2 separate regions of the Homo sapiens genome follow, and region 2 is linked to region 1. Evidence: promoter capture Hi-C in human tissues and cell types (Jung and others, 2019). All regions are on one chromosome and are shown on one strand. The core of a region is centred on a gene start or on the middle of the fragment in contact, and the rest is flanking DNA. Distances in the headings are between cores, read along the strand shown.

What was found. The method cuts DNA at HindIII sites, captures the fragments that hold promoters and counts their contacts. A contact is called where the count stands out against the background at its distance.
Region 2: a fragment that was not itself captured here is called in contact with the fragment with the promoter of AMD1 in region 1 in 1 of the 25 tissues and cell types used here (dorsolateral prefrontal cortex).

The regions. Positions count from the first base shown.
Region 1 is chr6:110,873,467-110,876,709 of GRCh38, reverse strand. It overlaps AMD1 (adenosylmethionine decarboxylase 1), which reads right to left and starts at 1,925. Exons shown (of 9, transcript NM_001634.6): 1 at 1,495-1,925. The coding sequence starts at 1,604. RefSeq lists enhancers at 73-787, 788-1,503 and silencers at 751-940, 971-1,040, 1,101-1,350. The HindIII fragment of the contact is 7,288 bases long and covers 358-3,243 here.
Region 2 is chr6:109,491,493-109,494,858 of GRCh38, reverse strand. It overlaps AK9 (adenylate kinase 9), which reads left to right. Exons shown (of 41, transcript NM_001145128.3): 40 at 764-878; 41 at 1,288-2,004. The coding sequence ends at 1,490. ZBTB24-DT (ZBTB24 divergent transcript) reads right to left here. Exons shown (of 4, transcript NR_187591.1): 3 at 291-394. Among named protein-coding and RNA genes, the nearest start is that of ZBTB24-DT, 9.5 kb to the right of the region's middle. The HindIII fragment of the contact is 3,021 bases long and covers 1-2,796 here.

The sequences.
Region 1 (3,243 bases), core at 676-3,175:
CATGACCAAAGTCCGCTTCCTATAATCTCACGTGAGCCTGGCACGTAGTAAGCGCTATAGACATTTTAAGTGTCACACGAAGCTTGAAAAAAATGAGACGTGTGACATTTTAGCTATGACTAGTATTTTTTTCTACAATGGAATCGTTCAAGATACACTGCTAGAAACCGGGTTTCCCGTCGTGCCTTAAAGTCTCGGTAGCACGTGTCTGCCTGGATTCCCTTTTCCAGTTGCTTTTTGTCAAGGGACAGCTCCAAGAACAGCTAACACTCCTAAAACGCCCATTGGTCCACACCCTGGGGCCAGGCTCTGAGTGCGGCCCAGGAGCCCATTGGTCGCCGCCTCTCAATGAAGCTGGCCACGCCAGTTACTCCGCTGCACCGCCACCCTAGCCGCACTCGTGCGCAGAGGAGCCAGGGATCCGGTGGCAGGGCCTAGGAAGGCCATTGGTGGCCACCGGTGCGACCGCCGCCAGGAACAAGGCCTAAGCATCCACGGGATCTCTGGGCTTTTATATAAGCATGGATTTCCACAGCAATACCAACTAAAACGCCTCTTCGGCGCGGTCAGCCCAAGTATCTCTCGCGTGACGGCCCGCAGTGGGAGTGGGCCCCAGATTCCTTTGCTCAAGCTTAAGGCATTAGAGGCATTATGTCCTGGGGCAGGCGGGCCTCCCTCCACCCGCACCTCTCCCGCCCCGCTCCGCCGGCTCCGTAGCAGGTTACACAACCCAAGGTCAAGAGATTGGGGAGCAGCCCCCAGCGGCCTCAGCGGCCGTGTCGAGGGCGGCCCCGGGGACTGCGCCGTCTGCCCAGCCGCCCCGAAAAGGCTCTGGCGCAGAGCATGTTAGGGGAGCGGTGGGGCCCCGCCACTGCGACATAACTGCTCCCGCCCAATCCCCGCCGCCCGAACGCCACATGCTGCCCGCGGCCGCCGCGGGTGGGAGGCCTCTTCGCCAGCCCCTCAGACAAGGCCGGGAGGGCCCCTCCTATCCGCGCCCGAGGCAAGAACAAGCGCCGCTCCCGCCCTCCATTCCCCGAAGCCGGCACGCCCGAATTAGCGCCTGACTAAGCCCGCCGAGCCACACCTGCCGGAGGCAACCCGCGCAGGCGCCCCCGACCCCCACCTGGGGCCCCTGCCGCCAACTACTACGGAGGGAAATGTCGGGAGGCGCGGGCCGCAAAACCACCCCGGGCCGCGCCGCCCGCCGCCCAGCGCGGGACGTTACCTGAGCACGCGGCCGCGCCGGCCTCCTCCCCTCCCCCAGGGCAATGCCAGGCGCGGCAACCACGGCGGGAGAAGCCGGCTCCGGCCCGCGTGGACATGGCCGCTCTCCCCCAAACCGCGCACCTTCCAAGGCCGCCGAAGCGACCCCAGGCCGCAGACTTGCCCCCAACTGAAAGCTGAGGGAACTCGGGCTCCACCCGTGGCTGGTGCCTCGGCGGCGGCGACAGCCCCCAGGCCCGGATGTCAGCGAGCGCCCCGGGGACCCACCTTGGGATAGTGCGAAGATCCCCAGATCCTTGGTTTGCGTCGGGCTGCTGCCGGGAGAACCAAACCTCCAGCAGCTTCTCGGTCCCTTCGAAAAAATGTGCAGCTTCCATCACCGTGAGACTAGCGAACAACCAACAACCACAGAAAATCAACTAAATTAAACCTCTTCTCCCGCCGCTGCCGCCGCCGCTGCGGATTGTTCCAGCTGTGTTACTAAAGTTCAGGTTCCTTTTTTTTTTTGCTATAATTTTATATTAACTTTTTTTAAAAAAAGGACTAATAAAATTTTCCCGGCTTTGTGTGAGCGAAAGTTGAACGTGAGTCTTTTGGAAATAGAGGCAGATACAGTTCAGTCTCTTGTATTCCGCTGCTTTCCCGTTAGAGAGAGTAGAGCGAGCGCTAGCTAATGTCGCCGGCCATACTGTGTAAGCGAGAGCGCTGCGTGAGCACCGCCCTTATATATCCCGGCTCCCCCCAAAAGACCAGGAAGTGACGCATCGTCCCACCTCCACGGCCTATAGCTGCTGCCGCCTGTCAATCACTCGCGGCCGAGTGGCGGCTGGCTGGCCGAGGGCCTGGCGGAGAGCGCGGGGAGCTGCCCACTGCGCTGCGGCTCGGGCTCTGGCCGGCTCCTGAGTGGGAGTTGGTGCTGTGATGTCCAGCTGGGGACTAGAAACCTCGGATCGAACGCAGAGTGGGTGGGGAGAGCGGGAACGGAATGAGGAAAGGCTGTGCAGAGCTGTTTAGAAAAAAAAAATGATTAGCAGAAAACATGGGTGGGTCCTTAGGGGTGTTGGCGGGGTTCAGCGGGGACGGTGGCCAGCGCTGGGTTGGCGTGGTGGTTTTGATCTTGTGCAGTTCACCGCGACTGCTGAGGTACTTGGCCATTCTTAAAAGTGTGTTTTCCCAAGGCGAACGCAGCCAGGCGTTAAAACTAAACATTTGTCCGTGACGCGCACGTTGCCAGGGGTCGAATTAGAAGGCGCTTTAATTCTGCTCACGCCTTGGCTGATGTGCGAATGAAAGCAGTCCTCGGCTGGTTTATACAATAGCCAGAAGCATTGTCTTCCTATTTCAGAAGAGAAAAGCAACGTGGCGCCCAGCCTTGGAGGGCCCCGGCTTTACCCACCTCCCACCGTGTGGCTCGCCATGCCTCCGAATTGGCTGAGCACAGCAGCCTCCGGGAAGCACTGGCAGCTCCGTTGCTCCATTAGCTCAACTGGTGGGAATTTATTCAGCAAAACTACTTCTAGAAACTGAATGTGTTAAATATAATCTGAACTTATTTGATCATGTTTTTCTTTGAATTTTATCAAGCTGATGTATTAATTGATGGAGGTTCTCCTTACCCCCCAAAATTTACAGTGCTATCTTCCCATGTGCTTAAGAAGGATTTACCTGGAAATTAATAAAACAGGGATTCCAGAGCTATCACTGGTGGTAACTTAAATAACTATCAGTCTAATATTTTATAAGTGTTAAGTATAAAATAGTCGTCAAGCCATGGTCAAACAGTTTAACCTCAGATGGCAAAACTGGTAACAAAGTTATTACTTTTACTTGGGAATATGGGAGGAAAAAAACCCAAGCTGACATAAAAATTGCTATTGTCACAAGACAAAAGGACTTTTCGCTATCATCCTTAGAAAAAAACTTTCCCCAAAGTGAAATAAGATGATGTCAACATGAAAAATCCACTGAAAAAGACATGGTTTGGGTTTGCACTCTAGATACCCTGTAGAATAGCTC
Region 2 (3,366 bases), core at 37-2,536, 1.4 Mb after region 1:
TTATCCAAGTATAACTTTTTAAGAATAGCAAAACTTAGCAGCAGCCAACTGCTATCTTTACTATTTTATTTTATTTTTACTATTTTTAAAGCTTTTTTTAAAAAAAGTCTACAAAATAAATGCTTAGGGCACAATGTCAAACCTTTGTCAGCAATTCTTAACCACTCTGATTTTTTCAACTTGCCTATAAGGTTAGCCTTCAGTCTTGTTTAACATCAAAATGCCAGATGAGGCCCACCCATAGGGGAGTATTCTCATGAAGGCCAATTTTTATCAGGAGGGCCTCTTACCTTCTTCTGGGCTCTGGAATCTTGCCAGCACTGACTACTGTGGTCTCTGGAATTACGTGTCAGGTAGCCAAGGGTCCTCAGAGTGGGAGGCAGTCTGGCCATTTCTGAGAATGAAAGCAGATACGGGCCAAGATATCGCAAAGCCTAGGGTCCCCTTCTTTCTTCTCTTAACTTTTTGTTATAAAAAATGTCAAACATATAAAAATAGAGAGACTTGTGTAATGAAGCCCATACTCCTATCCATCACTTAGCTGACACTAAGTCAGTTTGTAATTTTCATTTTTCCTAATCAAATGTATTTTGTATTTCTTTCCTGTTGGCTAACTGGTCATCTAACCATATTTATAAGCCCCATCCCCACTCCAGGGGGCTATTTGAGGCAAAGAAATAATATTTGCCTGTTTATCTATTGGCACTAAGAAAAGAAACCAAACTCAAGTATACACAGAATTTGAATTGTTCCCTCCCTGCAGGGTATTGCAACTTCTCTAATTAAAGCAATGAATGCAGCGGGATGCTTAAAGCCCAAGTTCCCCTTTTTAAGTATAAGGAGATCTGCACTGCTATATATAGCACTTCATCTCAAAGGTATGTCTTTTTTAATTATTTACTACTCAGAACAAATTTAACATTAATGGTAGTATAAGTGATGAATAGGATTGTTAAACTGTGTTGCCTGCTTGGTGAGAGAGAAAGAGAGAGTGTTAGTAGCAAATACAATACAGGGCAAATATTTTAAATAAAATGTCAAAGTTAAAATTCTATTTTCAAAGTAGGGACTAAGTAATACAGTCAGCTGTCAATAATCCATGCCATAAAGAAGGGTGAATAGAGGCAATTATGACCTAAAACAGAATAATCTCCAGATTTTATTTGGGATTTGGATATCTTCTCAACCATAACTGTGTAACTAACTCAACCACACATCCAGGTCTCTTTCATTTAATGACTCACTAACTAGCAGAAATTATTCACAGTTCTGTGAAATTTTCTACAGCATTTAATCCCAAAGGTTCCGAATACACAAGAAAAAAGTATAAGAAGAAGATGGAGCAGTTTATGGAGAGTTGTGAACTCATAACATACTTGGGTGCCAAGATGACCAGAAAATACAAGGAACCTCAGTTCAGAGCCATTGACTTTGATCATAAGTTAAAGACCTTTCTCTCTCTCAGAAATATAGACCCAATTAATGGGTAGTTTACTTAGGTGATAGCAGCCTGAATCTCAAGAGTTATCTGAAAGTGATAGAGGGAAACTGAGAGAAGTAGATTGAAAATCTGGGCCTCTTGGAAGTACTTTTGCCTCCTGAGCAAGGTACCATGGCTGCCAGACTTCAGGTGAACTCAAAGGTCTGCCAGCCAGGAAGGAGCACTCTTATGGAAACAAGTTTTAATACAATTTTAAAATGTATTGCTCTTTGCCTGAACTTTGATGCTTTAACAAAATAAACATTCTATTTATAATTCCATATAGAAAAGTTAAGTGACTTATTTAATAAATGTATTATTTTCCTTTTTAACATTTTCAGTAGAAAAGTCAGTCTCTGTTAAAATTACTCATTAAATGTTAGAAAGCTTTAAGACATTTAACATTGTTATAAATGAAACCAAAATATGGGTTATACATTTTACATACAAAACTGTTTGTGAACTTTGTGAACATAAGATACTATCATTTTCCCAATAAAATAAATGGATTTTGCAACAACTTACTGGCTGCCTCTTTTCTTTTTCTTAAGTATTCATTGAAGCATGCTTTATACCTTATTTTATAATTGGAAATTACCTGGAATTTTAAGAAGGATGAAATCTAGAGTCATTATATGACTCAGTATATGCTAGAAGAAAACTTACTAAATTGAATTTAATGAGATTTTTAAAATAACAATTTTCAGCAGCAATATAAAAGGATCTGGAATAGGAAACAGCAAGATTGACTCTTAAAAAATAAAAAATATGACCATTAACTGTGTAACCTTGGGTAAATTTCTCTGAGCCTTCATTTCTTAATCTCCACGATAAATGGTTTAGCTCTTTGATCCCTATAAATTCAATAATGTTAATTAAAAACTAGAAGCCTTTTTATATATCTTTTGCATTATATATTTCATAATAAAATGATTTTTAAACAAAAGCTGGAAGCCTATTGCCAAAGTTAGGATAAACCTCAAAAGCCTTTACTTTTTCAGGAGGCTGGGAGTTGCCAATAGCTACCAAGTTTTGCTGGCAACTTAAGCCCCATTTTTGCTCCCTGCCCATTTCTTAATGCCTGTAATTTACCATCTTTCTATCACCAACTGAAATCTACTGGCTTTTTCATTCTTGACAAGATATAAATGTTCTCAGGTCTCTTCAGCCTATGGGTATGATGAGTTTGCTTTAGCAGTTAAACCCAAACTTCATTGCTTCAGTGCCCCTGCCTTTACGAAGGGCAGCAGTCCCTGCAGAATACCGCTGAGTGTTTCTTGGGGTCTCCAGGGAGTGTCCCATGTGCTCCAGAGAAAGTCCACACCCACTGCACATCTCCTGGGGATGAAGTTCTCTAGTATGGCTTCGCCCTGAGAACTCTTATGAGCCCAAGGATGCTGTCTTCTGAGCTCTAACATCTCATGCATCATTGTTCTGGAGCTGCTGAATTCTGCACAAAACTAGGGCAAATGCCCTTTATCTTCTTAGTAGGAAGAAGCTCAGTCCCTGAGCTGAGTCAGCAACCAAAAGCCATGTGATTCTCCCTTTTCACCTCTCTCTCCATAGAGTTTCTTCCTCTGAGTAAATATATACAACAGAGTATAGCAGGTAGGAGGAGTGGGGAAGGAGTAAGGAGTCAAATTTCCTAGAGTAGCTTCTAGTGCTGGACACCCCAGGTCCCTCCCATTCACATGCAACTACAGTTAGCTACATTTGGAGCCTTATTTAGAATAACTACTGACACAGCTACTATTTCCCAGCTGCTTTCTATGTGGCCAGAGAGAGCGTGCTAGTGGCTTTTCATGCATTATCTCATCTCATTATTACACATGAGAAGAGCTTCCTACCCAAGATCACATAAGTACTATCCAGATTCAGACCCTGAT